Regions from separate parts of the Homo sapiens genome. Here region 2 is linked to region 1. Evidence: promoter capture Hi-C in 16 types of primary human blood cells and fetal thymus (Javierre and others, 2016). All regions are on one chromosome and are shown on one strand. The core of a region is centred on a gene start or on the middle of the fragment in contact, and the rest is flanking DNA. Distances in the headings are between cores, read along the strand shown.

Region 1 (4,287 bases), core at 1,042-3,541:
TTTGAAGCTAACTGCCTCAACAACTTCCTTTTTAAGGATCAGTGTAATTCATTTCTAATGTGCTTTATTATTAACCAAAATATATTCATTTTCATGACAAAAAGTAATAAAAAACAAAAAACTTAGATTAACAAAATTATAAGATATAGGTCAAACCACTTACCATCCATTTAAAATCATTATTTCCCCTCAGAAAATTGGGGTATCGTTTTATATTACAAGAAGCCATGTGTGAAAGCATTTTCAATTTCTTGATCATTCATACTTACTTTAAAAGGTTATTCTTACAGACTGACAGTTCTAGAAAAACTTATGGTGATTACAAACTGTTTATATGGTCCAACTTTACAAATGAAAGGAAACATTTTACACTTGGGTTTTGTTAGCTACGTTATAGTTTTCAAAAGCAAAAGCTAAAATTTTCCAGTAATTATGATAATAGATCCAACAATCCCAGTTTCAAACATAGTATTTTCCTACCTTCACGCCAACTGCAACCTCAGTGACGATTCTGCAAAGAAAAAATAAGTAGTTTCAACCTCCTGTTATTCTTCTAATCACTCACTCTTTGGCTCTAAAACTTTTTAGGATAGTCCATCATTCATAAATCTTCCAGCCACTCACACACAGATGGGGATAAAAAATACCACAGATGATCCGTGACTTACCTGTACTGTTACCAACCTGGTTTTCTAAAAGTAACTTTCAAATGTGAGACAACTTGTGGTATTTTTTAACAACACATTCAATAGCCAAAAAGAACAAAACCCAAAACACTATGCCATTTCTACAATGCCAGTATACTGAGATTAATAATTTAACGCTTAAACTCTTTAGTAGTCTCCACAGGAACCAGGAATCAGGAAACATGAATTCTAGTGCAAGTTTTGACATCAATTTCCGTGTTGATCTGGGGGGAATACTGAACTTCTCTGGATTTGTTTCATCTGGAAAATAATCTTTAGGTAACATCTAGGATGATTTGAATTCTGTGAGACTGTGTTAACTTTTATAAAATCTTGTTTTTAGTACCTTTTAAAACACACCAAACTCTAGGCGCTTAACCAAATTGTTGATTCTTCAAATACTCACTGATTTTAATAAATGTACTTGTTAAATGATACTATGTTTACACTCCCAAAAGAGCTGCATACTGCTGTATTTTTGACCTTAAGCGTGCCCCCTTTCTAACATTGAGTTAAATTACTGAGTCTTTTCAGGTGTGAAGCATATGAGCGAGACATCGGTCCCTACCATTTCACAGTCTTGCCTCTCACCTCACTCAGCATTCCGTCTTGACTCAGGTTCGCAAAGATGCAGCATGGTTCTGGGTTTTTATAGTCGTTTTTCCAGAAACTGACCAAAGTAGCTAAAGAGATAGCCCTTTGTTGACTATCTGCTCTTGTTTCTGCCATTGCTGTTGGCCTTTGCCCATGTGACTGATGTCGGCTTCAAACACTTCGTTTTTTAGATGATTTAATTTCTGGGCCCTTTTGCCAAGCCTTGAATGTTTTCAGTCCCCACAAAAAGGCATTTTTTCCTCCCTCCCGCCCCCACTACCAGACTCAAATGAAAACAAAGGAGTATGACATCTGCCCTCCCCCTTCCTCCCGCCGCCGCACGCCCTCCCCCCTTCCCCAGCGGCTCCCACTAGGCTTTCCCCGGAGCTCCCGCCACCGGCATCTCTCCCGACCACGGAGGGCCGGGCGAGGCCGGAGAGGTTGCTCATGGCTGGGGTCCACATGGGGTGCCTCTCTCCTCTTCCCCTAGAGGCTCCCCCAATCCAAAGGCCTGTCTCTGCCCATCCCACTCGCTCTCACAGGCACCGCTAACCCAAGGGTCGGGTCCCAAGGTACGGATCGAAATGGCTCCTAGAGGGGGCAGGGACAGACCGGGGAGACGTTATGGGGTTCCCACCCCATCCCCCGCCGCCAAGCCGGTGCCCGCTCCCACTCCGGGATCCTCACCCCCGCCATCGCCCCTATGCCTCCCCAGCCTCCAAGCCCGCTTTCTTCTCATTTTCTCGACCAAAGCCCGCCGGGGGAAGCAAAGGGAGGGGTGTGTGCGATGGGGCGGGGGTTGGGTAACGGCAGCCCAGCCCTGGGAGGGGCCGCGGGAGGGTTTCTCCCCGGCCCGGGACCGGGCCGAAGGACGGTCCAACTCCTCTCTCACACACACCTTCTCGCCGGCCCGATTACATACCCGTCCATTGCCGAACCGGACAAAGCTTCGCTCACAAGAACCGAGCCACGCAGCCAGCGAGCCACACAAGCGGCGAGAAAATGGCGGCTGGGGCCCGACGGAAATTGCCGAAGGTGCCGAGGCGCACGGGCCACCGCGCGGCAGCGGCGGCGGCGGAAAGAGCCGAGCGCGCCGGCGCCCGGCAGCGGGAGGCGAGCGGCAGGGCGCTGGGACTAGGGGGAGTGGGCGCCGCAGCCGACGCCTCCTCCGCGCCTTCGCGCGCCTTTCTCCCTCCGCCCTCCGCCTGCCGTCCTCTGGAACCTGGCGTTCTGCTGCAGACCGCGGCGACCTGGTTTCCCCTCCTTGTGGGGGCGTGGGTGGGACACCTCCCAACAGCTCTCCACACTCTCTCTGCCCTGACTGCAGGACGCCCCCAGGCAGCCTCCACTTTTCACTCCAAGCCAAGTACCAGCTTGGCTACCGTCAACCTATGCGGGCCAAGGAAAAAACATTGGATAGCTTTTCTCCTAAGCCATCTTTTATTTGCAGACCGGCTCCAGCCTCTAAAACAAAAATCTTTACCCCACTGAACGAGACCACTTGGTAACAACAGTACTTTCTCAAGCAAGTAGAACTCCTCAGACTGAAATACAGGCTTTTGCTTCAAGACCTGTAGTACCAAGCCAAGTGGAGGAAAATGTGATTCTCACTTCAGTTGGTGATTAGTGTGCGCCTGTAGAAAATATTCACAATACGCTAGGTGGAAATAGACACAAATGGAGCCATGTGTTAAAATGCTACAATAGTTGGAGTTTAACATTTGGAGGCATGAAAGGGAAAGTGGAGATGGGAGTGGGAACAACTGAGTCTTCAGATTGGTTAGAGAAAGTAGAAGCATTAAAATGGGCTATGCAAATTGACTCCCTTTGCTATATCTTACGGTCTCAATTTTTACTTGATACTATAGTGGACATTTTACTTCAACGTGTTTTTATCAGAGGCTCAACAAAATTGGGAAAGGCACCCGCTTGAAAATTTGCTCAGTGAGTAGCGACTTTGCCAGTACCCATCCTTCTCCTGCACCCTTCACCTCCACCCCCAACACACACAAGGACAAATGCACTTCTAATTCTGAAAAATGACAAATACTCCCTGTGTCCCTCCAGTTACTCTCAATACTCACTCTGGGTTTTTCTGTGTCTCCTTCAGGCAAAGCTCTTATCCTTTGCTAATTGGAATTTCATATACTAAATGATATTGTGTATAATTTTTAGAATTTTTTTTTTTGAGACCCAGTCTCGCTCTTGTTGCCCAGGCTGAAGTGCAATGGCGCAATCTCGGCTCACTGCAACCTCGGCCTCCCTGGTTCAAGCGATTCTCCTGCCTCAGCCTCCCGAGTAGCTGGGATTACAGGCACGCGCCACCACGCCCAGCTAACTTTGTATTTTTAGTAGAGACAGGGTTTCTCCATGTTGGTCAGGTTGGTCTCGAACTCCTGACCTCAGGTGATCTGCCCTCCTCAGCCTCCCAAAGTGTTGGGATTACAGGCGTGAGCCACCGTGCCCGGCCATAAATAATATTACTTTTAAATTGGATAGACCCTTAAAGAGCATCTTGTCCAAACACTTTGCTATAGAACTCTTCAAAGCACCCAAATTTTTACAAATTCTTGATTTGCCTATGGGATTGTCAATCGTTAAAAAAAAAAAAAAAAAAGGCCGGGCACGGTGGCTCACGCCTGTAATCCCAGCATTTTGGGAGGCCGAGGCAAGCAGATCACCTGAGGTCGGGAGTTCAAGACCAGCCTGACCAACATGGAGAAACCCCGTCTCTTCTAAAAATACAAAATTAGCCGGGGTGGTGGTGCATGTCTGTAATCCCAGCTACTCGGGAGGCTGAGGCAGGAGAATCGCTTAAACCTGGGAGGCCGAGGTTGCGGTGAGTCAAGATCGCGCCATTGCACTCCAGCCTGGGCAACAAGAGCGAAACTCTGTCTCAAAAAAAAAAAAAAAAAAAAAAACCACATATCAAATTTCCTACAATAACCACTTCACCTTAAACCTTAAAATAAAGGATCTGTTATTAGTGCCACTAATAATCACTTTT
Region 2 (4,112 bases), core at 384-2,883, 1.3 Mb before region 1:
AAAATGAAGGAATGAGGCCAGGCCCAGTGGCTCACATGTGTAACCCCAGCACTTTGGGAGGCTGAGGTGGGAAGATCATGAGGTCAAGAGATTGAGACCATCCTGGCCAACATGGTGAAACCCCGTCTCTACTAAAAATACAAAAATTAGCTGGGCATGGTGGTGCGCACCTGTAGTCCCAGCTACTTGGGAGGCTGAGGCAGGAGAATTGCTTGAACCCGGGAAGCGAAGATTGCAGTGAGCCAATATCACGCCACTGCACTCCAGCCTGGTGACAAAGCAAGACTCCATCTCAAAAATAAAATAAAATAAAGGAATGAATGAATGCACAAATGAATCTTGTTCTTTAAAGCTTGACTTCTGTTTAGTTTTTCAGACATGCCTAGTCAGACACAAATTTTGCCAGGAGTCCCTTCTTCCATGAGTTGGTTCTATAGAAATGAGAAGCAAACTTGAGGAAAAGAATGGAAGTAGATAGGAAAAGGAGTTGATGACACATTGGCCCACTTTGCTGTTTCATTTTAGGTTGAACCTACCTGTACACCCTTCCACTTCTACACTTAGCCTAAGCTCAGAAGTGCCTTTTAGTCAAAATCTTTGTCTTAGATCTATGATTTAGATTTGGTGCTAAACAAGATACATTTTCAACCTGTAAAGTATTAAGTACAGCATCTGACACATGGTAAGTGTTCCATAAATGAGAATTGTGAAAAAGCCACACTGCGTTGTATATAAGAGCCTTCCCTCATAAATCAGAACTTGATTTGAAACCAGTCTCTACTTTTTTTTACTAGATGGGAGACTTTGAACAAGGCATTTCAGTCTCTGTAGTCTTAGTTCTCTCAGAGTAATTTCATGTGGGGTTGCTGTAAGATGCAACGGGATAAGATGTGTCCTATATTCAGCACAGTGACTGGCATTTAGCAAGAACTAAAGAGGCACCGGCCATTTTGTCAGCAATGATGAAAGTTCTGCTTATTTTTAAAAAACATTCTCATTTATCTTTCTGGAAATTGATATACAAAATATCTTGGGATCACATTATTAAATATATCATAAAAATTACTCTAAAAGAAGTCTTACATATCAACTGTAAAAATTATACACATTGGATGGTTCTACAAAGAGTTTAATCATTGCTTTATCTTGTATAAGCCTAGAGAAAACCAAGTGGCACAAGGATCAATATCAAACTTCAAATTTTTTTTTCAAAAGGAAAATCTTACATCTAGAGTTCAGGCACATTTTACACATCAGTGAAAATTCCAATCGATATTTCTGAAACTTGTTGGCTGGCATAGATTTTCTATATAGTTGGAAAATTGTATCCAGTTAAATTGTGAAATGTTTAAACAAGGCAACAGAAGTTATGCTGGTATAAATGCAAATAATATTTTAAAATTTAGTGACTAACCAAAGTCTCTAATCTTTGGTCTTATCTAAATCTAGGGAAATTAGTTTGATGATTCTAAGTCCTATTTGTGTGTTCATCATCCACATTCTGTTCATTTTTTGAAATCAAAAAGGGACATCCTATTTTTTTGCATAAAAGCTTATTTTAATCAACAAACAACAATCATCCCACTGAAAATAATTAAATACCTATTTAAAACATAAAAGTCAGTATTTTCAAAAAGTGTACTTTTATCATTTACTTCTGTTTTTTAAAGTTTGGTTAGGATGAGGTATTTTATTTTTTTGAACGAAAGCTTTTTTCAGATGACACTAAAGGGCTGCCCTCCCTCTCTTCCACCCATATCCATACCAATCATTTCTGTGCCTCAAAGCAATTTCTGACATGAGTAGCATCTCTTCAACATGCTAGCTGCCTGAACCTTAAAAGTAAACACTAACAGTGAAAATAATCCCTCAACTTTTAAAAGGAAAATCTCAGAGGTACCATAATGCTAAGGAAGACTTCATTTCACCCTGGATTTTATTTAACTATTATTCTGAGTTGTCTCTTTTCAAAGCAGGAAACATTTCTCCTTTGGCAATGTTCTAAGCAAATGACTTTATTTCAATTATATAAACCATAAATAAACAGAAATAAAAGAGATTAATGAGCACCGGTGCAACTGAATGACAGTCGTTAACGACAATTTTGCTTTATTGAAAAACCTCTCTCTGACTTTTGTTCCATTAAGACCATATCCCAATTATCTCAGTTTCATTCTGCCATTAGCAACCTTATTTTCTTAGAAATAGTACTGATAGATGGGTTTTAAACTGTACTTTTATAAGTAAGACAGACTACAATCAAGAAAGGGGTTCCCATGTATAGTTTGTGGGAATACGTTTGAAATGATCACACTTCCTAACTGGTCTTGCAAATCAGACTTCAGCTAAATGTAGTACTCCATTATAAGGGACAGGGGAAAAAATTGAATGTTGGAGTTCAAATTCGTATAATAATTAGAAGGGACATTTATTTCAAAATGTGGAGGACTTGACAGTAAGAAAATGACAGAAATTCAGCTCCACCGTGAATTATAAATGTCAAATTACTGGTATGCATGTAAAAAAGTATGTAGCTATTAGAAACCATACTCTGCATTCACGTGCAGTGCTTCTGCCTTTATCAGTTTCTTATATTCCTCTAAGGTGTTCTGTCATTCACTGTCAAATTTTCAGTGTAAGATTATAAGACATATGTCAGATCAGTGTCCAAAGCTTTCCAGGTTCTGGACACACCAATGCAGTCCCATATTTTACACAATATTAAGTATATTAAATGGGAAAAGCTGCTCAGTTATTAGAAGTCAGTTACAGAGGGTACTCTAGCATGTGATATCATCTACTCTGAGGAATGCAAAGTGCAGGGAAGGGGGGAGCAGCATGACTCTATATTGTGTGTGGACTCACGATGCTGTCAGAGTGTCAGCAGGATGAACAATGAAAAGGATGTTAACTAAATTTTGATGTGCAAGAACATGTGTTTAATTTGCAAGATGCTTTGTTTAATTAAAAGGTAAATACCATTTACAATTCCTCTTGCAGACAAATTTAGAGCTGCAACAACACCTACAGTGTTCAAATTGCCAGCAGAATTTCCTGGATGCATTTGATCAATTAAAAGGGTACACATTTGGGGAAAAATAATTATTTTGTTCCATTTGTTTTCAAATAGAAATGGCTTTATTTTCCATAAACAGATTATTCCTAGAATTTAATGCCTAGCTAAGTATGGATTCAAAGATCCAAAAACCATATTATTATGTACCTGGTGCAGAGCAAACATATCTGAAGGCTAAAAGTTTCTCTTGTCACTCAACCTCCATCTCAAATAGGATTTGTTTTCCTCTTTCTGTCTGTCTGCTTTTCTTTTTTTAGCAGGTTAGCTCCAAAAGGAATGTGGGTCACAAAGACCCTTTCACCCCTTCAGAAAGATAACCTCATTCACATTATTTGGGAGCTTCAACATAATTATTCCGTAAACTCTGTCCAATCTTAAGGCAGATCGAAAAGATCTCAGATCTCATGTTTTCCTTTATTTAAGATTTGCTACTTTTTTCAGTGACCATGGTGGGAGAGGATGCTATTAGTTCTTCAGCCGGCCTCAGGGCAAAAAAAAGTTGAAAAAGACCCAGACTTCTTTACTTACAACTTCTAATCTCCATAATACAGGTAGTAGAGATAACAATTCGACCACATTTCTGCAATTCAACACTTCCTATAGTTGTAGCTTGGTTTCAGATATGCTTGGAGGCAGGAAATATACCAGTGACTCTCCAGAGAATCCAACTTAATCATTTACCTGGTTGATACCACCACATGACATCTGACAACATGAAAGAGAAATTCTGCAAAACTTCTTCAACAGTTCACATGCAGTGAATTGGACTTGGGTGGCCCTCGCTATGTAGTAATCATCTAATAGTTTCTTTCAACCAGTCCTGCCTACATGTTTTGTGTTACATGACTAACATGTAAAATACTAAAATATGAAATAGCCAAACTATTATACTATTAACACATTATATTATAAACTATATCTGTTACATTAATATATCATCAGAACTCCAAAGAAAATAAAAATTAAACTGGCAGAAAACAGTACAAAAGAAACTTCAGTGGAGTAAATGCACTTTTCCCCCTTGTAATATCAGACA

Evidence for each region. The method cuts DNA at HindIII sites, captures the fragments that hold promoters and counts their contacts. A CHiCAGO score of 5 or more calls a contact.
Region 2: a contact is called between a fragment that was not itself captured here and the fragment with the promoter of PTBP2 in region 1, in 1 of 17 cell types (total B cells). The highest score is 5.0, in total B cells.

What each region holds. Positions count from the first base shown.
Region 1 is chr1:96,719,788-96,724,074 of GRCh38, reverse strand. PTBP2 (polypyrimidine tract binding protein 2) reads right to left here and starts at 2,291. Exons shown (of 14, transcript NM_021190.4): 1 at 2,203-2,291; 2 at 481-511. The coding sequence starts at 2,210. RefSeq lists silencers at 1,816-2,095, 2,326-2,525. The HindIII fragment of the contact is 2,234 bases long and covers 2,230-4,287 here.
Region 2 is chr1:98,058,535-98,062,646 of GRCh38, reverse strand. The region is part of intron 1 of LOC124900404 (a long non-coding RNA gene); the gene reads right to left. Among named protein-coding and RNA genes, the nearest start is that of MIR137HG, 11 kb to the right of the region's middle. The HindIII fragment of the contact is 157 bases long and covers 1,555-1,711 here.